Regions from separate parts of the Homo sapiens genome. Here all the other regions are linked to region 1. Evidence: promoter capture Hi-C in 16 types of primary human blood cells and fetal thymus (Javierre and others, 2016). All regions are on one chromosome and are shown on one strand. The core of a region is centred on a gene start or on the middle of the fragment in contact, and the rest is flanking DNA. Distances in the headings are between cores, read along the strand shown. Region 1 holds the start of EMP1 (epithelial membrane protein 1). Region 2 has its middle 16 kb from the start of GPRC5A. Region 3 overlaps GPRC5A (G protein-coupled receptor class C group 5 member A). Region 4 overlaps GPRC5D (G protein-coupled receptor class C group 5 member D).

Region 1 (6,854 bases), core at 1,514-4,013:
GAGTTAATCACATCCAGAGGCACAAAAAGCTAGAACTTCAGCCAGAACAGATCCAATTGCTTTCCCAGACTGGATAACTTTGTTTTATAAAATAAGCTCAGTGATATTTCAAGGGTTAATTATAAGTCTTTAGAAATCCTGGACTTGCATTCATCTTTTAAAAATATTTACACAACTTGGCTTTCTATGGCACCACTCTGTGTGTGCATGTGTGCATGTGTGTGTGCGTGCATGTGTTTTTGCATGTGTGCATGGGTGTGTTTTCACAGCTCAATGCATTTAATATTTTCTCTCCAAACCTAGACATCTCCAAAAGCACACAGGAAGGTGAGATTTATCAGACCCATTTGGAAGGTGATGCTGTCTACTCACTTTAAGGTGAAATGGAGGCAGGCAGATGCCTCGCTCACAGCCACTGCCAGGTAGTAGGCGTGGAAACTGGGCCTCCTGCTTTCTGGGTCCTGTTTTGAAGCCCGTCCCTGAGCCCAGCGTCTCTCTTTGTGAAATCCATGGAAATCCAGATAGACTGAAGGATTCCTCTACTCAAGTACTTTAAGAAAAGTTCCTGATTTTTCCCCTTGTTAAGCCCGAGAAGGAGGTGGGAGGGAGAATGCCTCCCCTCTGCTATTCCTTGGCTCCAGGTTTCTCTTTAAGAAATGCAATCAGACCACATACTCCTCAGCATCTGAGAACACTTCCTCTGGAGTCCAGTTCTCCTTTCCAGGCAGCTGAGGGAAGAGAGACTTTAAAACTGGCAGAGGGCATCAGGGGTGAAAGGCAACCCTGAGAGTAGGAAAAGGCCAGGGAGACAGGCCGATTCCAGCAGGGGAGACTGGCCCATCTGGAGCGCCAGCACATGCCTGGGGATTTCCTGGCCTCACCTGCAGACACCCTCCCCTCCCTGAGGGTTGGGATGCTCAGAGATCACAGGGACTCTCAACCCACTGCTGGGAGTGGCCCCTCTCAGACAGGCATTTTTATTATCAAATGAGCAATGAGAGAGGGGAGAGGTGAGGAACTCTATGAGAAACATGCAGTCTTTTATCACGTCATCAGTTTTCAGTGAGAAAATCCAGACCTTCTTACTTTTACAGAGATAGAATTCAGTTCTCAGGGACTTGTGAAGATGCAGCATCATCAAATCATTGTGTGTGTGTGTGTGTGTGTGTGTTGTGTTTTCCTTATCATCCACCTTAGAAAATATTCTCCACATTCCCATGTTAAAATATTTTTTCCTAAAATCCATCCATCCACATGCCAACATCCTAAAGACAGTAATATAGGTTCATTGCAGAGGATTTGGAAAATACAGAATTGTGACCAGAACAAACTAAACTGCATCCATAATTTTATCATCGAATTTGATCAACATTTTGGTGAATAGCCACCAGTCTGTTTTCTATCTTTTTAGGGAATATAAGTTCCAAGAGGCAGGGATGTCATTCACTTCTGTGACTCAGTGCTCTGAATCAGGCCCAGTGAAGACTGACGTGCAGCCTGTATTGGCAGAATGAATGAATAAATACTACACACGCATATTTTGAATTGAAATAAGTTGTCAGGGTGCAGCAGAGAATAACAGAAATAGAATTGCTTGGATGTGCTGACCTAGATCCAAGCTGCTACTGGTAACGTACTGTATCTCCTTGAATAAGTCACTTCACCTCTCTGGGCCTGAGCTGCTTCTTCAGTAAAATAATCCTTGTAGCTAAGATTTGTTGAGCGCTCACTATGCACACTGCCATGAGCCCCTATATGTGTATTTCTCATCATAGCTCTATGAGTTACATACCTGCCATCTCCATTTTATGCATGAGAAAATAGGCATGGAGAAGTTAAGTGGTTTGCCTAAAGTCACACAGCAAATTTGTGGAGAGCTGGGCTTGAACTCAGGCATCTGGGCTTTTACTCTCTCCAGTGGAATGCCTGGGCTGTGGGATGAGATGACTTCACAGGCCTCTCCCAGCTCCAGAGTTGAGAGAGAGAGAGGAGTGGTGCAGGGAGGTAGTAGGGATGATTATGCTACTGGCCAAGTTCAAGAAAGTCAATTGTAGAACAAGGTCCAGCTGATTATTACAGAGAGCAAAGTTCTTAACTAGAGGACTTCCTCCTGGAATGTGGAGAGTCCACACGGGCACTAGCAGAGCATAATGAAAGACCAGGAATTCTCTGCTGTTCAATCAGTGCTCCATCACTCAGAGGCAGGGCTGCAAGAGCTCCTAGTGTGTCCCCTTCGCCTTCAGGGCCTCCCTGTACAGCCACCCACAGGACAGTGCACCAGGGTCAGGCAGGGAAGTAAATAAAAAAAGGAATCTGATAATTCCTGACAGTGAGCAGCAGCTGATGCTTTTAATGGGGGAGGAAGACTGGGAATCTCGCTTGATGATGACCTAGGACTTCAGTCAGCAGGACACTGGCCCCTTTCCTCCCCCTCCCAGGCTGAAACCTTGTGTTTTGCCTTATGTCCATGGTAACCAAGTCTCCTTTTTGGTGAGGAGGAATGGGCTTCAGTAAACAGATCTATTTGTGTGATCCTGTTACTCATTTGAAGCAATGTCCCTCCTTTTTTCCACTGTGGTCTGTGTGTCTGAGTCAGAGAGAGCCTACAACAGGGTTCTTTGAATTGATGGCTCACTCCCAGCCACTCTTGACTGACTGCCAGCTTAGCAGGGCGTAGCTTACCAACAAATCTTTTTTTTTTTTTTAAAGCCAGACTGATTCATAGAAACTCCTTTAAAACACGGTGAAAAGAAACCGCCCATTACACACCCCAGTACACCAGCAGAGGAAACTTATAACCTCGGGAGGCAGGTCCTTCCCCTCAGTGCGGTCACATACTTCCAGAAGAGCGGACCAGGGCTGCTGCCAGCACCTGCCACTCAGAGCGCCTCTGTCGCTGGGACCCTTCAGGTAGGACAGCTCCCAACGCTGTGGGGACTCTCAGCAAAACTTCTCCTTCCTTTCCACGGCTCTGCTTCTTCTGACCTCATCTTAGTTTTGCTTTTTCTTTTCTTCCTTCGCTATTTTTCTATGATCCTCTAAGAACCAAGTCCTTGAAACTTTTGGCTCAAAGTGGATACAGAGACAACTTTTTCTAGAAAGTTCAGAAAAGTGTATTTTGAGGACGGAGTCTGGGGAAATCAATGGGATGGGGCTAAAATCGTGCCTGGCAGTGACCGGGTTCTTGTTCTAGGATGTGGAGGGAGCAGGGACTTTGAAACAAACTGGGATAGGATCCTGTTTATGGAGGAAACACCACACACCTTGGAAATGACATCGGGAACTGGCCAGATGTTTTTCACCTCCTCCGTTTTGATTCCGATTGCTTCAGGACTTGAACTGTTACTCTGCTCGCTGGTTGTTGGTTGGGATTTTTTGGGTGGTGGTGGATAGATAACTGGTTTTCAGTTTATTTTTGACATTGCTTTTCCTGCCTGTTTGCTTCCCTATTCACTTCTGTTTAAATTTAAGTATTTTTTTTCTCCTCACAGGATGGGAAGAGGGGGATTGGTTTGTTTAAAGAAAACTGTTGGCCGGGCACGGTGGCTCATGCCTGTAATCCTAGCACTTTGGGAGGCTGAGGCGGGCGGATCACCTGAGGTCAGGAGTTCAAGACAAGCCTGGCCAACATGGTGAAACCCTGTCTCTACTAAAATACAAAAAGTAGCCAGGCATGATGGCAGGTGCCTGTAATTCTAGCTACTTGGTAGGCTGAGACGGGAGAATTGCTTGAATCCGGGAGATGGTGGTTGCAGTGAACTGAGATTGCGCCACTACACTCCAGCCTGGGCAGCTGAGTGAGACTCTGTCTCAAAAAGGAAAAAAAAGAAAAAGAAAAAAAATGAAAAAAGAAAACTGTTAGAGAGAGAAAGAGAGGGAGGCAAATGGTGTTTTAAATGAAACGTGGGAGGGGTTCACTTGGTCGAAGCAGGAGCTGATGAGGATTCCAGATGCCTTCTCTTGGCCAGATGTGGAGGGCGGGGGAGGCAAAAGGGAAGCTGGGTTTGGAGAAGAGGGTGGGGCAGGAGAACTTCATCTGTGCCTGTTAAAAATTGTTGAGTGGCTTTGTGCTTTCACCCCAGAAAGAGCTGCCTTTCAGTGCTGAGTGAAAAGATGGCATACCAGAAACGATAAAAGAACTTTTAAAAGAAAGTGGATGTGGAATTTCTTTGCATGGAAGGCAGTGATTGTTTTGAAATGCTTATCTTTTCTCTTGTTCCCGAAATGTGATTGTATAAATGCAAACACTCATGCTAATCATGAAATCTGGAGGAATGAAGAAGGGTGCTTTTTCTTTTTTTTCTTTTTTTCTTTTTTTCGGTTAGCATTTTGGGTGAGTGTCTACCGAGGTGTGGCCCATTTCAACATAGACACTGGTATATTTTTTCCCCAAGTAAACAAGATGAGAATGACAGGATTCAGCTTGTCTGACAAAGTTAGGCTTTTCCTTTAGAAAGGCAGTACGTTGGGAGAGAAGTTACATGTAATCAACCCTGTGTTGAGCAGGCAATGCTCCTTGTAAAACTGCCCCAAGGGGGACGATTGAGTAGGCATCAGGGCAACTTTTCAAGATGAAGGGAACTCCTACATTTGCTTCACATGTTTATTATTTCCACATTACATGGATGTGGATTAGCCATTATTAAATCAATAGTGTTAATATCCTGTGAAAATTATACAAATCTTTTAGTTCTGTGCAGGTTAAAACTAATAACCAGTCAACACACGGAAAGCCCTGACAATGTTGGGAGTGTAAACCATCATGAACTGCATTATTTGTGGCAAGGTTTCACATGATACTGTAGGTTTATAAAGGAGAAAATATGCTACATGTTACTTCCTGGAGTTTGAAGACAATTTAGAAAAATACCGTTCTGATTCCTGCTCTCTGCTCTTCCTCCAAGAAGTAGTGAAAGAGTCCCTTAGCTGTGAGAGTTTTTCTGGATTTCAGCTTTGACAATCCCGAAATGTGAGGGTTATTTTTCCCCCCCACTCTGCCCGCTGCCTCCCACCCTCAGGGGCAGATCCAATTCCACCCAGACTCCGAAGAATGGGGCGGGGGCGGGGGCTGCAGGACATCCTGTCTGGCGCCCTGGTCAGAGGGCCCCCCACATTTACATTGTTTGTGGGTACTAAACTGTCTTGGGAGTTGGCAAAAGGCCATCAAGAACCAACTTGGAGCAAATCACATCCTTAGAATCTGGCTATCTCCCAGGACTGCTGGGCAGACCGCTGGGGAAAGGAAAGAGATCCCTTCTGTGGAGAGTGGAAAGGACTCACTGTGCCTTCCTCAGCCCTTCCTGCTTCCTCCAGAGACCAGATTAGGCCCATCAAGTTCCCAGCCTTGTCAGTGGGCTTCATGGAGACCCCTCACCCGGGAATGTAGACCCTCTTGGCTTGCTCTGGGTGGCTCTAGGGATTTCAGGTAGTGCCAGACCCACAGGGACTACTGGAGAGAGACACGTTGAAGACCGGGGAAAACTTGTGGATGAGGCAAGACTGCTTTTCTGTAGACTCTATGGAGCCTGGTGGGGCACATAACTGAAACGTGGACACAGGAAAGGGCAGGAGGCAAGTCAGTTCCATTTCATCCTTCATTTCGTTCACAGAATTCTAAATTTGGGAGGGATCTTGGATCTCATTCATTCTCCTACTGTATGCAGAAATCTAATTTTTACACCATCTTGAACAGATGGCCATCCTACAGATCTTAAAATTTCCAGATGCGGGGAGCTCAGAACCTCAGTGTGTACCTCCACACTCATTCCCCTTAGCAGGCCAACTCTAATTTTATTAAAGTTCCTTAAATCAAGCAAAATCAACTTCCTTATAACTTCCTGATTCTGCTGGCCTGAAACAACTCAGAAAATATCTATTCTGGTTTTGTTGTTGCTCCACCCAATGATTCTCATCCTCTAAACACTTAACGCCTATTTAATATTTAATGAATACAACTTGATGGATCTACATTGCATTATCTTTTCTTCTTCTTCTTCTTCTTCTTTTTTTTTTTTTTTTTGCCTAAGGCTCAGAAGGGCAGGGAGCATTTTTGAAGTTTGGAATTATGTACATAGTCAATCATACTCACGGGGTTTTTGATTTGGAGGTATTTAATTTTCTAAATGCATGAATATGGTTCCTTCTTTAACCTCCCACATGTATGTACATAGCTGCCTAACACAAAAGCTCAGGCCTATTTGGGACTCTCAGATGTACATACTCGGAGGGACACACCCAGTGTTGCTACCTACTAGGTCATGGTTAGATCAATCCAATACCAGGACACAGGCTTCTAGCTAGGCCTTTTGGGGATTGTCCCATAATTTGGTCCATAGTTCATGTAGCCCACACCTATACATTGTCACCACCCATCATAGTAATTACGGGAACAGGCTGCCCATCAAATGTAGCCTCCTTGTAATTGCTGGCCAGCAATCTGGGTATCAGCCCCTTGAGAAGAGCTCCTAACCCTTAACCAGCGTAGAACGGGAATTTTCTCACCATAAGCTTCCCTTTTCTAATACTCTTCCCAGATCCGCCCAGGTGATCTTGAATTTCTGGACTGCACTTGCTATTCAGTAATCAAGGAAGCCCAAATATGGTTCCAGTTAGGGGTTTACTTGAATCTTCAGCACCCAGCCCCGACATACACACGTCCTGAGACTGCTCTTTGCAACAATTCAGTCCCTGGTGTCCTGCCTGGGTAAAACCATTTCCTTCAATTTACCTGGGAGATTCACTGATACTAAAGCAGAAAGATGAAAGCACAAACACCTGTGGTGATTGCTGCTTCTCTCTTCCTTTTTAACAAAATGTTTGGGTCAAGGTTTTCTTTTGTGTTGTGGAGATGGCAT
Region 2 (6,854 bases), core at 3,019-5,518, 320 kb before region 1:
GATAGGGTCTTGTTTTGCCACCCAGGCTGCAGTGCAGTGGCGTGAGCACAGCTCACTACAGCCTCGACCTCCTGGGCTCAAGCCATCCTCCCCACTCAGCCTCCGGAGTGGCTGGGTCTATAGGTGAGCACCACCATGCCCAGTTAATTTTTTATTTTTTGTAGAGATGGTATCTAACTATGTTGCCCAGGCTCGTCTCAAACTCCTGGCCTCAAGTGATCCTCTCGCCTTGGTCTCCCAAAGTGCTGGGATTACAGGTGTGAGCCACTGGGCCAGGCTGAGAGGTTATGGATTTTGAGGAGAGTTGAGCAGATTTGGGGTTTTAGGAGGATCTCTACACAAAAGGCTTCTAGAGTGGGGAATGCTTTGGAGAGAAGAAAAACTAGAGACATGGAGATCAGCTGGAAGCCACTGTGGTGGTCCAGGAGAGGCTTGTGGGGGCTGGGCCTGAGGTTGTGCTGAGGGGGATGAAGAGAAGTGGACCTGCTAAAGGTCACAGTGCTGGTTAGTGACGGACCAGGGGCGGGAGCTGTTGACTAATTACATAAGAATTTCCTGCCAGGAAATTAGCCTTTTTTTCTTGTTTATTTAGGCATGAATTTAATATATGTGCTACTTGATAGAAACAGATAAGTAACTACAAGTAACTGGGCAGGGATGGTTAGCTGGGAGGTATGGATTTCATTTCCATTACTAATGCCTGCAATTGCTGATAATAGACGTGCCCCAGGAATCGCTGCAAGGGAAATGGAGCAAGGTGAGCCATTCTCTTTGAAGGAGTTTTTTCCAGCTCTACCGGTTTATGTGTATAGGGTCACACCCTACCTTCTTATAACTGCCTCATTTGTTCTCCTTTGGGTCAGGCTGAAAGTGTTTGTTTGCTTTTTCTGGTTTTATTGGCATAGAAAACTCTAGCAAGATGTGATTGGCCACTCTGTGGGGGCATCACTGGCCTTTCAAGCTGTGTTTCTCAAACATTCTCTGTGGACGCAGATTGGTCATGGCATCTGCATTCCTGGAAGGTGCAGGCTGATGGGTGGAGCGGAGGAGTTTTGAGGAGCCAGATGAGATGAGGCACCTGGGGACAGGTGACCCCAGCAGCTGCCGCTTGCAGGAGAGAGCTTCTGAGGAAAGACATCTGAGTCAGCAGGGTGACTGCTGGGACTGTGGGCAAAGCATGAGCCCAGCGGTGTTCTCATCCACCCAGTTAGGCGACCCTGAAGGTCTATGATGATAATCTAAATGATCCCTGAAAGGATCTGCTCTAATCTCTTCGCTGGTCCATGAACCTGCCAGGCTTGTTCTGATTCCGTATGGGAATTTGATTGATAAAGTCCTATGCATTCTTGAGTCACCCCCATCACCCACCCTCTACTCCCTTTGAAGAACCACAGAGGGAAGAGTAGACACCATACAGCTCACACTGACTCACTTCTGTGTTCAATGCATTGCTCCTCTTAGTCTCCCAGCTTTTCTAGAAGCCCTCTGAGGGCTTTTTTTTTTCCTTTTCTTTTTGAGACAGGGTCTCTGTTGCCCAGGCTGGAGTGCAGTGGCATGCTCTCAGCTCGCTCTGCCTCCTGGGCTCAAGTGATCCTCCTACCACAGCCTCCTGAGTAGCAGGACTACAGGTGCGCACTACCACGCCTCGCTAATTTTTGTATTTTTAGTAGAGATGGGGTTTCACCATGTTGCCTAGGCTGGTCTCAAACTCCTGACCTCAAGTGATCTGCCCACCTCAGCCTCCCAAAGTGCTGGGGTTACAGGCGTCAGCCACCGCACCTGGCCCTTCTGAGGGCTTTTTATTCCTTCTATGTTCTCGTAACTCCTCTCAGAGTTTTTAGGTGACCTCTGTTGATTGACAGATCCAGAAGTTTGGAAGATGTGTCAGCCTGAATTTACAGATTGGGAAGCCGAAGAGGAAGGGTTTAGCCACCTGCCCAAGATTGTGAGAATTGGCAGTTATTCACCAGATAACCAGGAACAGTCCTAGAGTTAAACATTTTACATACATTTGTTGTTTAATCCTTTCAACAAAGCCTAAGAGGTAGAAGGTCTCATTATCCCCATTTCATAGCTGAGGAAATTGAAGCTTACAGTTTTTAAATAACTCCACTGCACTTACATGTCAAACTCAGAATTAAACCCAGTCTTATTCCTAACTGCTTCTCATTTTCAGCACTTCCTACATTGTATTACAGCTTCATCTACTTGCCTTCTCTGCAAATTAGACTATTACCTTTTCTAAAGGCAGGAACAATACTTTTTATTTTAATCAGGACCTAGCACACAACCTGATACATAGTTGATGTTTAATGAATGATTATTAACCAAATGTTAAAAGAATAAAGAGCTGGTGATAAAGCTAACTTCTAGTCCAGGTATGCACTGCCTCCCTGCAAAGGCCAGGCTGGCCTGCTCCCTTTCAGAATGGGATCTCATAGGAGCCTCTTCTCTACTCAAAGTGACACCATCAGACCCCATATATGGGGAACAATGTTACTTCCTGGTTTCCTTTAAAAGCCCTTTGGGAGGAGACAGTGAGCAGGCGTCAGTCTTGGGGAGCCTCTTCAGCCCTGCAGGGTTGGGGCCTCCTTTCTGTCTCTCCTCCATGGCACAGAGCTCCACTTACAATCCACAGAAACCCTTGGAGGCAGTGAGCATCAGCCTCCATCTAAAGTGGTGATGACCAGCCTAGTCTCTGGCTGGAGAAACTTGGAGTTGATTCTGGTTCTCTTGGGCCAGATATTAACCTTATGAAGTCTCAGTTTCCTCCCTATAATGTGGGGATACATATAATGTCCATTTCATCCAGTTGCTATCAAGATTGAATGAGAAAATGCATGCCCAGTCCTCATCACAGCATGAGGTGAATGACAGCTTTGGTTACTGGAATTTGAAGGCCTGAGAGAGGAATGTGAAAGAGGAACTAATAATAACATCAGGCACTGCAGGGCGCTTTGCCAATCACTCTTTTTTTTTTTTTTTGAGTCAGGGTCTCCTTCTGTGGCCCAGTCTGGAATGTTAGTGGTGCAATCTCGACTCACTGCAACCTCCGCCTCCCGGATTCAAGTGATTCTCCTGCCTCAGCCTCCCAAGTAGCTGGGATTACACGTACGCACCACCATGCCCGGCAAATTTTTGTATTTTTAGTAGAGATAGGGTTTCAACATATTGGCCAGGCTGGTCTCAAACTCGTGACCTCAAGTGATCTGCCCGCCTCAGCCTCCCAAAATGCTGGGATTATAGGCGTGAACCATCACACCGGGCCATTCCAATCACTCTTCATTTCCTGCATCTCAAAGCAACGCTGTCAAACAGTTGGAGTTGATTTTCTAGGCCTTTCTGTTTTCCCCCTCCTGCTTGCCATTGCAGGGCCTCCTCTGGTCACTCGTACCAGTGAGAGATCAGGCTCCTTTAGGAAGTACTCACAGCGGAAAATCAGCTTGAAACTGCCTTTGGAAAAGTATGACTGAGACAGTGAAGGAGATCAAACTTAACTGACTCCCTCTTGCTCCTAACCTCCAGACTGTCCTTATTCATTCCTGGGTGTAGGCCGAACTAACTTTGGGAGAAACTTAGTTTATAGTTTAAACAAAGACGGTAACAACCCTTTCTTAAAGCAGACCTCCTTCTTGCCTGGGGACTAGATTGCCTTTGTAGGATGAACATTAACCACAAGATTAGAAATTATGGTTTAGGAGTCATGCAGCTGGAGCTACAAGATTCCAACCCTCCCCTAAACTGCTCCTAAGATCAGTGCTTCTTTCCCAAGCGGCTGCCGAAGATGGCGGAGGTACAGGTCCTGGTGCTTGATGGTCGAGGCCATCTCCTGGGCCACCTGGCGGCCATCGTGGCTAAACAGGTACTGCTGGGCCGGAAGGTGGTGGTTGTATGCTGTGAAGGCATCAACATTTCTGGCAATTTCTACAGAAACAAGTTGAAGTACCTGGCTTTCCTCCGCAAGCGGATGAACAGCAACCCTTCCCGAGGCCCCTACCCCCTCCAGGCCCCCAGCCGCATCTTCTGGCAGACCATGCGAGGTATGCCGCCCCACAAGACCAAGCCAGGCCAGGCCGCTCTGGACTGCCTCAAGGTGTTTGACGGCATCCCACCGCCCTACGACAAGAAAAAGCGGATGGTGGTTCCTGCTGCCCTCAAGGTTGTGCGTCTGAAGCCTGCAAGAAAGTTTGCCTATCTGGGGCGCCTGGCTCACGAGGTTGGCTGGAAGTACCAGGCAGTGACAGCCACCCTGGAGGAGAAGAGGAAAGAGAAAGCCAAGATCCACTACCGGAAGAAGAAACAGTTCATGAGGCTATGGAAACAGGCCGAGAAGAACGTGGAGAAGAAAATTGACAAATACACAGAAGTCCTCAAGACCCACGGACTCCTGGTCTGAGCCCAATAAAGACTGTTAATTCCTCAAAAAAAAAAAAAAAAAAAAAAGATCAGTGGTTGAGATATTCTGCAGACCCTGCACTTGATGGATCAGCTGGCACCACCCAGATCAATAAACTGGCTCATCTGATCTTGTGGCCCCCACCCAGAACTGACTCTGAAAGAAGACGGCTCCGACTTCCTACGATTTCATCTCTAACCAATCAGCACTCCTGGCTCACTGGCTTCCCCTCATCTGCCAAATTATCCTTAAAAATTCTGCTCCCCAAATGCTCAGGGAGGCTGATTTGAGTAAGAATAAAACTCCAGTCTCCTGCACAGCTGGCTCTGTGTGATTTACTCTTTCTCTATTGCAATTTCCCTGTCTTGATGAATTGGTCTGTCTATGTAGCGGGCAAGGTGAACCCCTTGAGTGGTTACAGTAACCGAGAGAGGGGACTTAACTTTTTGTATATGTTTATAAATTAGTTCCATTTGTATGTTCATTCTTTTTTCTAGTGTCTTATCTTTGGGCTTATTTTATAACTTAAGTCTGTAAAGCAGTCACTCTGAACCTGTAGTGAGTTGAAGAAGCCCTTAAAACATCTCTGGGCCGGGTGCGGTGGCTTACGCCTGTAATCCCAGCACTTTGGGAGGCTGAGGCAGGTGGATCACGAGGTCAGGAGATCGAGACCATCCTGGCTAACATGGTGAAACCCCGTCTCTACTAAAAATACAAAAAATTAGCAGGGCGTGGTGGCGGGTGCCTGTAGTCCCACCTACTCGGGAGGCTGAGGCAGGAGAATGGCGTGAACCCAGGAGGCGGAGCTTGTGGTGAGCCGAGATCGTGTCACTGCCCTCCAGCCTGGGCGACAAAGCAACGCTCCGTCTCAAAAAACAAACAAAGAAACAAACAAAATCTCCTCTGAAAAATGTCATTATTACCTTTCCTTAGTTCCAGGAGTCCGGGAGCCTCCTTTGTGCAGAGATCTTTGTATTGCCACATTAGTGCAATGCCCTGCACATAATAGATGCTTAATATATAGCACTGCACTGAACTGAAATGAGTAGTGACACTTGCCAGACAGTCTTGCAAAAGAGGAACAGGTGAATCCTTAACACAATTCAAGGTCTTATAGGAAGAAACTGCCAGTCAACCAAAACTAAACCGAGGCATACATTTCTTTCCTCACCTGGCTTACAATGCTGGAAGGTCTCTGGTTTCCTCTAAAGTGCCCTGGGTTTAGCCCATTAAACCTTATCTGTCTTATAAACCTTGCCATGAATATGCTTATCAGCTTCTTCCTGGGAGCATAAAATGGGTTTGGATAATGACTATAAAGCGCTGGAATAAGGAAGGTGCTCAACAGAAGTTGTTAGTGTAAACAAGAGCAGGTTAGAAGTGAGAAGAAGGTGCTCAGAGGACAGAGGAGATATGGGGAAGGACTTGGAATTAGTGGGGTGGAACTGGGGAGGAGAGCAGGAGGCCTGGCACTGAGAGCATCTCCTTCCCAGCTTGTTCTAGACAAGAGTAGCCTTGCCTGCCAGAAGCCCTGAGATTACAGGTGAGCTGGATCCCGAGAAATGAAGTCCCTGACTAATAGCAAATAAAGACACGGCCATTTGATAGTTCTGTTCTACATCTCGGAATGGGTAGAAATACAATAATAGCACCAAACATGAATTATGGAAAACAAGCTGTGAATGGAGACATTTGCTAAGAGATGCCAGCCCGGCTCAGCGAAGTCAATTCATCAGCTATTTTCACTTGGGAAAGAGAAATTAAGGGCAGAGCCGCAGTCCCTGCCAAACCTAACAGTCTAAAAAGCAGACTGTGTAACTTACCAAGGCCTCAGGGCAACATTAGCTGCAAATGAGCTCAGCAGGGCGGGGGCCTCCGCACAGTTCTCTAGGGGGAGAGATGGCAGGGGCCACAGCCTCTAATGTTAAAGCCACCTGCAGGGCCAGAGGGCCTCTCTGGAGGCAGAGGGATGCAGCAAAGACTACTTGGCTCTGCAGTCAGGGCTGGGCCGGGTGGTGCCGCACCGCTTTCTAATGGTAACTTAACCTCTCCAAGCTTCTTTCCTCATCTATAAAATGAGGCTAATAGCATCTGCTCTGCAGAGTTTCTGTAAAGATTAAAAACAAGACAAAGCAAGCACAAGGGCTTTGGAAACTGTAAAAGCTCTGGATATCAGATGTCATTATCATGAAAGAGAAACAATACTGGTTAAAAACAAAAGTTTCCTTCTGATGACTATTCCATGGTGTATTTTAGTGAAAGGGAAAAAAAATCCTACTGTCTATAGATAAAATATATATATTTTTTCCTGCAGTAAGCAAATAGGCTTCCGATAAAAAGCTGACATAGGGGCCAGGCACAGTGGCTCACACCTGTAACCCCAGCACTTTGGGAGGCTGAGGGGGGAGGATCACTTGAGGTCGGGAGTTCCAGACCAGCCTGGGCAACATGGTGAAAC
Region 3 (6,854 bases), core at 1,350-3,849, 300 kb before region 1:
TCACTGAAACCTCTGCCTCCCGGTTTCAAGGTTTCAAGCCATTCTCCTGCCTCAGGCTCCCAAGTAGCTGGGATTACAGGCGCCCGCTACCACGCCTGGGTAATTTTTGTATTTTTAGTAGAGACAGGGTTTCACCATGTTGGCCAGACTGGTCTCAAACTCCTGACCTCAGGTGATCTGCCTGCCTCGGCCTCCCAAAGTGCTGGGATCATAGGCATGAGCCACAACCTGTAATCCACTATTTTACTAAAACACAGCAATGCTCATATGTTTATGTATCATCTATGCTGCTTTCATGCTACAAATGTGTGGCTTGCAGAGTCTTAAATTGCTTATAACCTGGCCCTTTATAGAAAATCTATGCTGATCACTGATATAGAGGATCTGAATTATATGATTAGTAATGGAGATCTAATAAGATATGAAGATAGAGAATATTTCTATTTAAGTATCCATAGAACATTTACACAATTTTACCATGTTCTTATTCATATTGTATATTTTATCTGCCAAGGACTGGTAAAGAAGTATGAAAGTCTCATGCAACTATAGTATTGCCTTTGGGTTCTCCTTGTATTTTCAGCAGTTATTTATTTATTTTGAGACAGGGTCTTGCTCTGTTGCCCTGGCTGGAGTGCAGTGGCACAATCTTGGCTGACTGTAACCTCCACCTCCCAAGCTCAAGTGATCCTCTTGCCTCAGACTCTTGAGTAGCTGGGTCTACAGGCACCCACCACTACACCTGGCTAATTTTTAAATTTTTTGTAGAGATGGGGTTTTGCCATGTAGCCTAGGCTTGACTCAAACTCCTGGGCTCAAGCAATCTTCCTGCCTTCACTTCCCAAAGTGCTGGGATTATAGGTGTAAGCCTCTGTACCCAGCCTTCAGTACTTTTTGTTTTACGTATTTTGGTGCTATATTAGTTGGTGCATAAAAGTCTAGGATGGTTTTTTTTTTTTTTTTTTTTTTTTGAGACAGAGTCTCGCTCTGTCACCCAGGCTGGGGTGCAGTGGTGCGATCACGGCTCACTGCAAGCTCTGCCTCCCGGGTTCACGCCATTCTCCTGCCTCAGCCTCTTGAGTAGCTGGGACTACAGGTGCCCGCCACCATGCCCGGCTAATTTTTTGTATTTTTAGCAGAGACAGGGTTTCACCGTGTTAGCCAGGATGGTCTTGATCTCCTGACCTCGTGATCTGCCCGCCTCAGCCTCCCAAAGTGCTGGGATTACAGGCGTGAGCCACCGTGCCCGGCCCAGGATGGTTTTATCTTCAGTGTAGAGCATCCCTAATTATTATAAAACAAGCCTTTTGGTCAATATAATATCTTTTTGCTTTGATTACAACTTTGTATGATATTAAAACCTTAACTTCTACTTAATTATTTTACCTTGAACAACTTACTTAACTTTGTGTCTGACACATAATACTTGTTAAATAAATATTATGTTAGTATTTCTTTTTATTTTCATTTCTTTCTGTTCTTTTGCTTTTAACTCTTGTGTATCTTTTTGTTTTAGGTTAGGTTCTTCTAGGTATGATATAGTTTAGTCTTTTTTTTTTTCAAAATAGTTACCATTTACATTTCTTGTAATAATAGTTACTTGTTATTGTCATCTAATTTTAGGCTATATGGTTTGGTTGTCTCCATCTCCTTCTGCATTAGACAGTATATATCATATCATATTTTTAGATCTACTAGCAACTGAGTAGATGGTAGTGCCATTCTCAGGGCTTTGAAAGATAGGCTTGTAAGGAGAGGTGATCAGTTTAGCTTTGAACTTGTTGGATCCAGTGAATATTACCCTTATGTATCAGAATAAGATATTTAAATGAAGGGATCTTTGAGAGCCTTAAGATAGTATACTAGTAGAGGGCCGGCGCGGTGGCTCACACCTGTAATCCCAGCACTTTGGGAGGCTGAGGCGGGCAGATCACGAGGTCAGGAGTTCAAGACCATCCTGACTAACACAGTGAAACTCTGTCTCTACTAAAAATACAAAAAAAAAAAAAAAAAAAAAATTAGCCGGGCGTGGTGGTGGGTGCCTGTAGTCCCAGCTACTCGGGAGGCTGAGGCAGGAGAATGGTGTGAACCCAGGAGGTGGAGCTTGCAGTGAGCCGAGATCACGCCACTGCACTCCAGCCTGGGCAACATAGTGAGACTCTGTCTCACAAAAAAAAAAAAAAAAAAAAAGGATAGTATACTAGTAGAGGACTTCACTTTATTTTCCTATTTTCTGGAAATTTCATTTCTTTGAATTCGGGCATAAGAGATTTAGAAGCTTCACTCAAATATTAAGCTTTATTTAAAAAGATGATTTCCAGTATTTCATTTTATATTCACATTAATCAAGTCTACATGTTTCGTTTAGAGTAACAGGAAGATGGTAATACGCCCAGGGAACTATCTGGAAGTGTAGAAATTGGGATGAACACCGTGGTTATACTTGTTTTGATCTGCCTGTGGTGCTATGATGACTTATTTTCTCTCATTATTGCATAGAAACTCAATTCAGTGATGTTATTCAGATGTTATTCATAAGTTATTGCCATGATTCATCACTTTTATGTCATCAGAGTTGGGATGGCTACCCAGAATAGGGGATCCTGGAGATTTCCCTGTAGACGCTTTGCATTTATAAATAATCCTTTATCAAGGGCAGAGGGATTTCTGTAGGACTTCTCCCTTAGAAGAACTCAGCCTGGGTAGAAATACGAGGATTAACATCAGCACATATTCATCTCCAAAAAATTTTCCTCCCCATTACTCACACTTGCCAATAAATAACTTGCTTTGGGTAAATATTCAGCACTCAGTCTTAGTCCAAAGCATTTGCTCAGCAATCACTGTGTAGAGTACAGAGTAAGGGGGATACCAACAAATAGAAGTTTGCTCTATTTTCTTAAGAAGCTTGTTGTCTGGCCAGGCACGGTGCCTCACGCCACCTTCCTATCTTCCTAGGAGATAGATGCCACAAAGAAGCTTGTTGTCTGATAGGCAGCTCAGCAGTGATATTAATTTGTAATATATAACAAAGATATGGAAAAACTTGAGTGCCAAGAAATATTTAATTGTAAAAACCATGAAGAGATCGACACATTTAGAGTGCAATAGGATTTCAAGTCCAGGTGTGATGGCTTACGCCTGTAATCCTAGCACTGTGAGAGGCTGAGGTAGGTGGATCACTTGAGCCCAGGAGTTCGAGACCAGCTTGGCCAACATAGCAAAACCCTGCGTCTACTAAAAATATAATAATTAGCTGGATGTGGTGGCGCATGCTTGTAATCCAAGCTACTTAGGAGGCTGAGGCACAAGAATCGCTTTAACCTGAGAGGCAGAGGCTGCAGTGAGCTGAGATCATGCCACTGTACTCCCAGGCTGGAGTACAGAGCAAGACCCTGTCTTAAAAAAAAAAAAAAAAAAAAGGCCATAGGATTAATAGTAATAATGATAATAATTTAAAAAACTCATGATAGAGGTTAAATCTTGGGCAAAGTTTTGCAGAAATATGGTAAGTGGATCATAAATAGGAGGGAGAGGATCTTTCTGGTTAGGAGAATAATTCATGTGTTGAGGCAAAGAGCATGAGAAGACCTTAAATGAACCCAAATTCCCTTCCAGATGGAAAATACAGAACTCTAGGAAGATTTGCTTGCCTTGCACGGAGGTGGAGACGGGAGTTAGGGAGGAAGGAGGAGATAGGTGGGAGGACTAATTGGAGAAAGGCCTTGAAGCTCAAACTGGGGCTGGATCTGCCGTGACAGACAAAAAGGAGCGAATACGCTTCTTTTTTTTTTTTTTTTTGAGACCATGTCTCACTCTGTTGCCTAGGCTGGAGTGTAGTGGCGTGATCTCAGCTCATTGCAGCCTCTGCCTCCTGGGTTCAAGCGGTTTTTGTGCCTCAGCCTTCTGAGTAGCTGGGACTACAGGCGTGAGCCACCATGCCTGGTTCATTTTTGTATTTGTAGTAGAGATGGAGTTTCACCATGCTGGCCAGGCTGGTCTCTTAACGCCTGACCTCAGGTGATCTACCCGCCTCGGCCTCCCAAAGTTCTGGGCTCACAGGTGTGAGCCACTGCGCCCGGCCGATAATTTCTTTTTAACCTCCTTTGCGGACTCCTACCTAGATGAGATGGTGCTCCACATGGTTCTGTCCTTGGCTTCCCATGTGATCTTGTCTCCTCTTGAGGCTTCAGATACCACTCTAGGTGATGACTGCCAGTCTGTGCTTACAGCCCAAACCTCTCCTGAGCACCAACCCATATGCCCACGGTGCAGAGACAGCACAACCCAGTGTCAAGGAGCCTGGCTTTTAAGAGTCATGTAATCTTGGGCAAGTTATGTAATTTCTCTGTGCCTCAGTTTCCTCAGCTGTTAAAGGAAGGCATAATAATAGGGTTGTTGTGAGGATTAAATAACACCATATATGGCCAGGAGCAGTGGCTTGTGCCTGTAATCCCAGTACTTTGGGAGGCCGAGGCGGGCAGATCACCTGAGCCTCAGGAGTTGAAGAGCTGCCTGGGCAACATAGCGAGACCCCACCTCTACAAAAAATACAAAAAGTAGCTAGATGTGGTGGTGCGCACCTGTCCCAGCTATTCAGGAGGCTGAGGTAGGAGGATCACCTGAGCCCAGGAAGTCGAAGCTGCCGTGAGCTGTGATTGTGCCATTGCATCACTCCAGCCTGGGCGACAGAGAGACTTTGTCTCAAAAGAAAAAAAAAAAGAAAAAAGAAAGGAAACCATATATGGCTCAGAGGAAACTCTCAAGAGGACTTGGGTCTTTTGACTTGTTATTCCTGGATAGCTCCACGTGCAGGTCGCATATTTATCAAAGAGCCAACAAAGCTACACTTAGCATCTCTCCTTTCAAGCCTGTATTTCTAGGCTCTGACAGTGGTGCCACTCAGTTGCCTAAGCCAGAAATCTGGGAGTTAACCTGGGCTTTTCCATTCCCAAAGCCCTGTCTCTTCTACCTTCATAAAAATCTCCTACCATTTCCTGTTCATCTTTCATGTTTCATCTCCCTGCTTTCTTCCCTAAAGCATTAAACATTAAAAATAATTATTTTAAAACCCCACTAGGTAGAATGGGTCACTGTTTTCCATGTGCCCTCAGCATTCCTAATGTATTCCATAACTTCTTAGTTGTATGTCAGTGTGATTATTATTCATTCCAAGGGCAGTGGCCACAATTTTATATTTATTTATTTAGTTTTTTGTTTTGAGACAGGGTCTCACTCTGTTGCCCAGGCTGGAGTGCAATGGCATGATCATAGTTCACTGCAGCCTCGAGTTCCTGGGCTCAAGCAATCCTCTTGCTTCACCCTCCGAGTAGGGGGATCACAGGTGTGATCCTGGCTAAATTAGCACCCGGCTAATTTTTAATTTCTTTTTGTACAGCGGGGGTCTCACTATGCTGCCCAGGTTGGTCTCAAACTCCTGGGCTCGAGTGGTCCTCCCATCTCTCGGCCTCTCAAAGTACTGGGATTACAGGCGTAAGCTACTGCCCCCGGCCAGGGTTGCTTGTTTTGGAGACTTCTCAGCAAGCCAATGCTTGAATATATGGTGGTTTAAATGGAGAGAGGTTGGGGTCAGGGAGAAAAGCTCTAGAGATGATGACAGTGATTTAGAGGTGAAAAGGAGGATTGAATTATGATTATGACTACTTATAAAGAGCTATTCTTTCTGACCATGTGACACTGGACATGTACCTTCCTCACTCTGTTAGGTTTCTCACCTATAAAATGGGCTGTAGGAATGTTAAATGAGGTAATGGATGTAAAAGCATGTAAATGAGAGAATATGTGTAAAAATACATAACTACTCAGCATAGTGCCTGACTCATAATAGGACTCAGGAGGTGACAGTAGCTGTCATTATTCTTACTCATAATTACATCATGACTGTTATTACTACTGACTGAATGTAGCAATTCGAGAATAGAGAAAAAATGAAAATGCTAGAAAGTCACACATTTTCAGGGCTGGGCTGGCGCGAAGACACATTTTGACAGAATGAGAGAAATCTCATAGGAAGGAAGACAAAGTCAGTTTGTCTTTGCAAGGTTCTGGGCCCCAGATGATTCATTCTCAGATGCTCTGGGAAGGACTGCGTAGAATAAGCATGGGCAAACTTCCAGGCCTAGTCACAAGCAACTCTACACACTTTCCCCATCTCTCTGGTTGCGAAGAGGAGTCTCAGGTTAGAAACCCAAAGCGGGAGACTCATCACATGTTCACGTTTTTCCCTGCACAGTGGTCAGTGCTGTGTGTCAGTCAAGGCCATGTCTAGGGTCAGCGCTGCTCCAGGAGCCTCTGGCTTTGTCCTTCAGGTGGGCAGTCCCTTGCTGTGTCTCTTCTTCAGACCCTTCAACCTTACCTCTAGCCCTGGCTTTTAGTTTGGGTAGGAGTTTGTGGCACATACTCTTTTAATGACAGGAGATGGGGCAAGAATGAGGATGAGGGGGAGAAAGAAAGACATCTGGAAGTTTTGTACATGAAGCTCCCCAGGTGGGTGAACGGTGGAGCTGAACATGAGTTCAGACCACGTAGTTCAGCAGCGTGTCCTGCATTTTATAGATGAGAGGAGGCTTTGAGAGGTCAAGTGACTTACTTGTTCACACAGCCTGGCAGCTGAAACCCCTTCTCCCTAAAGGGGAGGAGGAACAGAGGGCTTGGAGTTGACCCAAGAAATGACTTCGCCCTCCTCTTCCTTTCCTCCCTCTTCCTCTTGTTCTTATTCTTCCCTTCCCTCTCCCTCTTCCCCACTGGTTTTTCTAAACCTTTCTTTTGGGGCCGGGCACAGTGGCTCACGCCTGTAATCCCAGCACTTTGGGAGGCCGAGGCGGGCCTGAGGT
Region 4 (6,854 bases), core at 1,626-4,125, 260 kb before region 1:
ATACAAAAATTAGCTGGGTGTGGTGGCGCTCGCCTGCAGTCCCAGCTACTCAGGAGGCTGAGACAGGAGAATCGCTTGAACCCGGGAGGCGGAGGTTGCAGTGAGCCAAGATCGCCCCACTGCACTCCAGCCTGGTGACAGAGCGAGACTCCATCTCAAAAAAACAAAACAAAACAAAACAAACTTCATTCCTGAAACAGCTTGAATGAGACACTTGCAACCTACAACCCCCCAAATCTAACTAATAGGCAGTCTAAAATTAGATAAATTGTGGTGTAAATTTCAGAGGCAGTTTGGTAAAAAGGTTCAATTTTAGCCTTCATCAATTTTAGAAAAAAACATTTTGGGAGACAATATTAGGCCCTTGTATGTGGCTTCAATGAGTTTTTAAGAATTTGTTAGCCAACTCTGTAGAAACATCTCCTGCTTGCAAAACAAAACAAAATTATGTTGAAGGTATTATTATGATTATTAGGATAAACATCAGGAGGATGTGTTATAATGGTTTTCTTTCACAACAGGTGGACTTTTTTTGGCTTGTTTCTACCTCTCAAATTAGGGTCTTCATGTGGATGCCACCTAATCTATAGACCAAAGCATTGCTTAATGCTTAAACATTTTTTCTCCGTTTTTCATTATCAATAAGGGCAGTAGGTCAAACATTTTTGTCATTTACCTAGGTCCTGGGTTGTGCTGATAATATTGCTTATGGCACAGATTTTGAAAAAGAGCAGCAAATTTTAGTGCAGCAGAAAAACATACGAAAGTGTTGGAACAGGTTGGGCGCGGTGGCTCATGCCTGTAATCCCAGGACTTTGGGAGGCTGAGGTGGGTGGATCACTTGAGGTCAGGGGTTCAAGACCAGCCTGGCCAATGTGGTAAAACCCCGTCTCTACTAAAAAAAAAAAAAAAAAAAATACAAAAGTTAGCTGGGTGTGGTGGCGGGCACCTGTAATCCCAGCTACTCAGGAGGCTGAGGCAGGAGAATCGCTTGAACCCAGGAAGCAGAGGTTGCAGTGAGCCGAGATCGTACAACTGAACTCCAGCCTGGGGTGACAGAGCGAGACTCCGTCTCAGGAAAAAAAAAACAAAAAACAAAAAACGTTGGAACATTGTGTAGAGATGAGCACTGGATAGGGGTTTGGAAACCTGGATTCTGGTCTTGGTTCTAGTGCTAACAAGCCATGTTATACTGGGCAAGTCCCTTCTCCCTGTCTGTGAAAAACAAAGGAACTGTGTTCCTGAAATTCTCTGCATTGTATGATCTTCTACAACAAAAATGCAAGCTTTGCTAAAGCAGTGTTGTACGCCTTGTCTGGGGCTGAGTCCTAGAATGGTTCCTGGTACCTTGCAGATGCTCAGGAAATATTTATTGCTATTGAACAGCTTATGGTGTCCACTGGCCACAGAAAAGGCTCTGTTGCATGTATAAAGCTGTAGTTATTTTTCAAAAGGCTTTCAGTTAGCAGGCACTCAACACTCACGGGTCTGAAATATTCCATTTGTTCTCAAGGGGAACACACCTTACTTGCTCATACAGAAATATGGGCATGGAGGAGCCTAGTGGACGGGGGAAGAAGACAGGCTTAGGAGTCAGAAAATCTGGCTCACCACTAATGACTGTGTGGCTTTGGGTAAGTCATTCTGTTCTCCAAAGTTCCGTGCTCTCATCTGCAAGGTGAGAGAGCTGACTCAGACCCCGGGACCCTTCTAGAGGCACACCTCTGACTCTGGTCCTCTTATTCTTGTAATAGATAACAAACGAATATTAAGCGCAGATGAAAGCATTCAGAAGAATGTGGGGCTGATGAGGAACAAAGGCAAGAAAATTAGCACAGAGGCACCAGCTCATTAGAAACATCAAGACAGGCAGACTATGCTTTTTATGTTCACCACATAAAATCCTTTATGAGCATCTGCTGGGGTGTCTCTTCCTTTGCTGTTACTGGCTCAGCAAAGCAGGTCATGCCCTCAGCCATGTCTGCTGCCCAAGTAGCTGTCACAGGGAGGTAGCACCAGGAGAGAAAGCCTGCCAGCTTGCAAGTCCATGGCAATGTCCGTGTTCTTTAAACCGCCCAATTGTGGTGATCCTGAGGATTTGGCCTTAACTTTTGTAGACAATTCTGGACCTATCGTATTTTGAGTTCCTTTACAAAAAAATTACTAGATGCCTCACACTCATTAGGATGACCACTGTAAACCAAAAATAAAAACACCCCAGGAAATAACAAATGTTGGCAAGGATGTGGAGAAAGTAGAACTCTGTGCATTGTTGATAAGAGTGTAAAGTGCTGTAGCTGCTGTGGAAACAGTGTGGACGTTCCCCAAAAAAATTAAACATAGAATTATCATATGATCCAGCAATCCCACTTCTGGGTATACACCAAAATAATTGAAAGCAGGATTTCAAAGAGATTTTTGCACATCTATGTTCATTGTAGCTCTATTCACAATAGCCAAGAGGTGAAAGCAACCCCAAATGTCCATTGACAGATAAATAAAAAAAAATGTGGTATAGACATACAATGGAATATTGTTCAGCCTTAGAAAAGGAGATCCTGTGACATGCTACAACATGTGACATGGACCTTGAGGACATTATGCTAGGAAAGATAAGCCAGTCACAAAAAGACAAATACTGTATGATTCTATTACATAAGGTATCTAAGTAGTCAAACTCACAGAAACCAAAAGTAGAATGGTGGCTGTCAGGGGCTGGAGGGAGCTGTTCAATGGATTGAGAATCTCGGTTTTGCAAGATGAAAAAGTTCTAGAGAATTCACAACAGTGTGAATATGATTAACACTACTGAACTGTACACTTAAACATGATTGAGATGGTGAAGTTTATGTTCTGTGTTTTTTAGCACAATTTAAAAATTGACCAGACATGTGACCCAGTAGTAAGCTGCTACTAACCTCGTTGTCACATTAGAATGCCCTTAATTTCTTCAGACAGGGTCTTTCAGTTCTGTGAATAAGAGGCACCAATTCTTTTCCAGCATTGCTAAGAAAGGGAATTTTGCAGTTACACGAATGAAGAAAGAGACACAGTCAAGGTAGGGTGGCCAGCAAGATTGTAATTATGCTCAAAATGGTGGTCTTCTGGTGGAGGGTCCTGGTGGATGGAGGGGTTAGGAAACAGAAGGTGGGATGCTGACTCTTCATTGGCAGCGTGACTCTGTGGGCCCCCGTGGGCTATCAGGGCTATGCTACCCAGGACGGTCTGCTGGGTTTTCTCCACTTGTGTTTCCTGTAGATTTATACTCCTCCTGCATCTTGCTGGGGGCTTAGTTTAGCCTGTGGGATGAAACACTCTTGTGTGGGATCAACAGTCTGGAAAGGAAGAAATGCCATCATCAACTTTCTGAGCAACAAAAGAAATGATATTCTCCAAAGTTATGTTTTTGTTTTTTGAGACAGAGTCTTGCTCTGTCACCCAGGCTGGAGTGCAGTGGTGTGATCTGGGCTCACTGCAAACTCTGCCTCACAGGTTCAAGCAGTTCTCCTGCTTCAGCCTTCTGAGTAACTGAAATTACAGGCATGCACCACCATGCCCAGATAATTTTGTAGTTTTAGTAGAGATGGGGTTTCACCATTTTGGCCAGGCTGGTTTTGAACACCTGACCTCAAGTGATCCGCCCACCTCACCCTCCCAAAGTGCTGGGATTACAGGCATGAACCACTGTGCCAGGCCCTAAAGTTATGTTTGAAGTATTATTATCTCACCTTCATTTAATTCTTTGTCAATAACAAAAGAAGAAACATACTGAGCCTACCTATACCAGGCTACCCCTTAGCCACGAACAAGAATCTTTTTGCAAGCAAGGTTCTTGAATAGCTGATCACTGGAAATTGAAATGAATCCAAGAAACTCTTGGAGGGGACAATAAAGATGTTTTCATTATGTAAATGCCCTCCTGAGGGTTGATTAAAGCACATGATATAGTTATGGCCTGGTCCATGTGTCATTCTAGGAAAAGGCAAATTCTCAGATAACATACCAGAGGGGTTAGCTTAGTTAGTGGCCTAGTAAATTCATTGAATAAATGATCTGAGGGTGGCTTTCACGTTGGGGCTTTAGTTACTTTTGATCCCCGTAATGTAAGAATTGTGTCCCAGTGTGATGTTTTTGGCTGTTTAGATTTGTATGTCTTCAAGTCTTCACAGCCCAAATGTGAATTACCCCCAAACTACTCAGCAGTGCTCCCTCTGTTTTTGCCTGAAAGGATTAAAATTTGTTCATCCATCTGGGCATCCAGATGATGATGACATACCCTGCCCAGTTCTTAGGGCAGCCTGGGCTGCTGGAGCTAGACAGTGACTCAGAGAGGCAGTCAGTGGGGCTCAGGTGATAGGTTCAGACAACTGCTACTAAAAGCTGACCCCAAACTCAGACATATTTACAATCCTGTATTGTCCCCGAGGCAAAATTCGGTAAGCCTGCTGCTCTTCACCTTCACACAGAAGCTTCAAGCTGCCCTTTCTTTCCAGGGACACGCACTTGCATCAGAATGCTATATTGTTGATGGCGATGAAGACTGGGAGGGTTTGGGTGAAAGCTGTCTTGCGCCACCTGGTCTGGCTTAAATCTGGGTGGCTCAAGCTCCACATGCCTTTAGGGATGCTCCTGCTCTGTCTCTCCTCTCTCAGGTCAGTAAAGCCATTAGAAATGAAGCCTGAGGCTGTCCTAAGGAAGGAATGCTTGCTAAGTCCCTCCTGGGTGAATATAGGCGAGTACATTTACCTGCGGCTGAATGGGAGTACCATATGAAGTTAATGCTACATCCTCCTCAGCTCCATCACTGTCTCGGGCTGAAAGCCAAAGGAGGGAAGGGCTGGGTTAGTGTCCGAGAGTCAATCGGAAACAGCACATGAGGACTACAGGAAAACTCCATGGCTTGCAAACAGGCTCTTCACTCTTTAAAAGGAATTCTGAGGCTGGGCACGGTGGCTCACGCCTGTAATCCCAGCACTTTGGGAGGCCAAGACAGGCGGATCACTTGAGGTCAGGAGTTCGAGACTAGCCTGGCCAACATGGCAAAACCCCGTCTTCACTAAAAATACAAAAATTAGCTGGGCGTGGTGGCGTGCACCTGTAATCCCAGCTACTTGGGAGGTGGAGGCAGGAGAATTTCTTGAACCTGGGAGGCGGAGGTTGCAGTGAGCCGAGATCACGCCACTGCATTCCAGCCTGGGTGACACAGCGAGACTAAATAAATAAATAAATAAGAGGAATTATCAATCAGTTGTAGCTGTTATTGAAAAACTTTATGATTTAAAGGAGTGTATTTAAAGTTGATGTAGAAAGCGTGGGTAGCGTGTGAGTGTTTAGGAGAAGCGCATTGGCGTTGGGAGACCACTAGCTCCAAGTCAGTTCTTGCTCTCTCAGTATTACCGTGTGGCCTTGGGCATCTCACTCTTTTCAACAGTCCCTTTAGGCTTGATTCTCTACAAGCTTGAATTCAATTTTTCAAAAATTTAAAAATTTTGCCCAGGTTGATCTTAAACCCCTGGCCTCAAACCTCCCACCTTGGCCTCCCAAAGTGCTGGGATTATAGGTCTGAGCCACCATGTCTCACCTGAATTCAATTTTTAAAATTGGGCATAATAAAAGAGATCACTTGAGACGATTCTATATTGTTGTAGGATCATCACAGACATAGGTATTTGTTTAATGGCTGCCTCCTCAACCAGCCTGTAAGCTCTGTGAAGACAGGAGCTGTGCCTGTCTCTAAGAGCAGGTACTTGCTGGATACCTAGTTGTTTTTTGATGATCACAGACATAACCGTGTTAGTAGGGTTCACACTTAGGGGTTTCATGTTGAGTGGATGGACCCTGGAAAAGGACTGCTTGGCTCTCTCATTTGTGTTACCTACCTAGGGCCAAGTTCCTTAACCTTTTGTTGCCTTTGTTTCCTGATGGAAATAAAAGAGGAATAATGACAGTCATAACAGTAAGTCTATCTCATAGGATTGCTTTGAGGATTATGTAAAATGTTATATAAAGTCCTTGGAACAGAGCTATCCTTTGTGTATGATTATTGGTGGTGGTGCTGGTGCTGCAGTTATAATAGATGCTCTGACATCCTCTTCCTAGTGGCTTTTTACTTATTTTTTTTATTTTTTAAAGGGGCTGATGCTGTGATACATGAAATGCTTGTCTTTCCTTCATGGCAGAACAAACTGAATCCTTGGCTCAACTTCATTCCTTGTGTCATAACAAGGCTCCTTCACACTCAGTCTCTTGGGAACCAACTTTCAGCCAACATTCTCATCAAACCAGATCATCAGTTAGAAAAGCCTAATTCTTCCAGCTCTAGCTATAGTTCATGAGTTTACCAAAAGGCTGAGCGTTTTTTTATACTAAACCTGCACCACTGTGTGATAGGAAGTCCGAGTTGAGTAAGACCTTCCATTTATCTGTGGAGAAGGCAGGGAGGGAGGTGATGAGCAGCATTTAAAGATGAGGAATCTGAGGCTCCTAGGGCTTGAGGACCTTGGTTTGGTCTCGAAGCAGAGTCTCGGAGCCTGGGCACATGCGGCCCGATTCTGCACTCTTTCCACTGCCCTTTGCTGCCCAATTATGCTCTCACTCCCTGAATTTGTTTTTTTAAATTGAAATGTAATTTTTTTAGAGTGTGCAGTGGCGCAATCATAGCTCACTGCAACCTTGAACTCCTGGACTCAAGTGATCCATCTCACGGCCTCTTGAGTAGCTAGGACCACAGGTGTGTGCCACTATGTCCAGCTAAGCTCTCTGAATCTTTGTGAATGACACCATCCTTGACTTATCTGTCCTCAGACCAAACAAATCCTGCCTATGACCCCACTGTCTTCTTCCTTGCTTTAAGC

What was found. Contacts are between HindIII fragments. The CHiCAGO score rates a contact against its expected background, and 5 or more counts as called.
Region 2: a contact is called between a fragment that was not itself captured here and the fragment with the promoter of EMP1 in region 1, in 1 of 17 cell types (megakaryocytes). The highest score is 5.0, in megakaryocytes.
Region 3: a fragment that was not itself captured here is called in contact with the fragment with the promoter of EMP1 in region 1 in 15 of 17 cell types (megakaryocytes, erythroblasts, naive B cells and 12 more); the score reaches 13.2 in megakaryocytes.
Region 4: a fragment that was not itself captured here is called in contact with the fragment with the promoter of EMP1 in region 1 in 3 of 17 cell types (neutrophils, erythroblasts and total B cells); the score reaches 6.5 in neutrophils.

What each region holds. Positions count from the first base shown.
Region 1 is chr12:13,193,963-13,200,816 of GRCh38, forward strand. EMP1 (epithelial membrane protein 1) reads left to right here and starts at 2,764. Exons shown (of 5, transcript NM_001423.3): 1 at 2,764-2,910. RefSeq lists an enhancer at 4,804-5,304. The HindIII fragment of the contact is 10,564 bases long and covers 1-6,505 here.
Region 2 is chr12:12,871,715-12,878,568 of GRCh38, forward strand. It overlaps the pseudogene RPL13AP20. Among named protein-coding and RNA genes, the nearest start is that of GPRC5A, 16 kb to the right of the region's middle. RefSeq lists an enhancer at 34-1,233. The HindIII fragment of the contact is 4,362 bases long and covers 2,088-6,449 here.
Region 3 is chr12:12,893,826-12,900,679 of GRCh38, forward strand. All of the region lies in intron 1 of GPRC5A (G protein-coupled receptor class C group 5 member A), which reads left to right. Among named protein-coding and RNA genes, the nearest start is that of GPRC5A, 5.7 kb to the left of the region's middle. The HindIII fragment of the contact is 611 bases long and covers 2,295-2,905 here.
Region 4 is chr12:12,937,515-12,944,368 of GRCh38, forward strand. It overlaps GPRC5D (G protein-coupled receptor class C group 5 member D), which reads right to left. Exons shown (of 4, transcript NM_018654.2): 3 at 4,747-4,814; 4 at 3,061-3,335. The coding sequence ends at 3,261. The region is part of intron 1 of GPRC5D-AS1 (GPRC5D and HEBP1 antisense RNA 1); the gene reads left to right. Among named protein-coding and RNA genes, the nearest start is that of GPRC5D, 11 kb to the right of the region's middle. The HindIII fragment of the contact is 3,183 bases long and covers 1,285-4,467 here.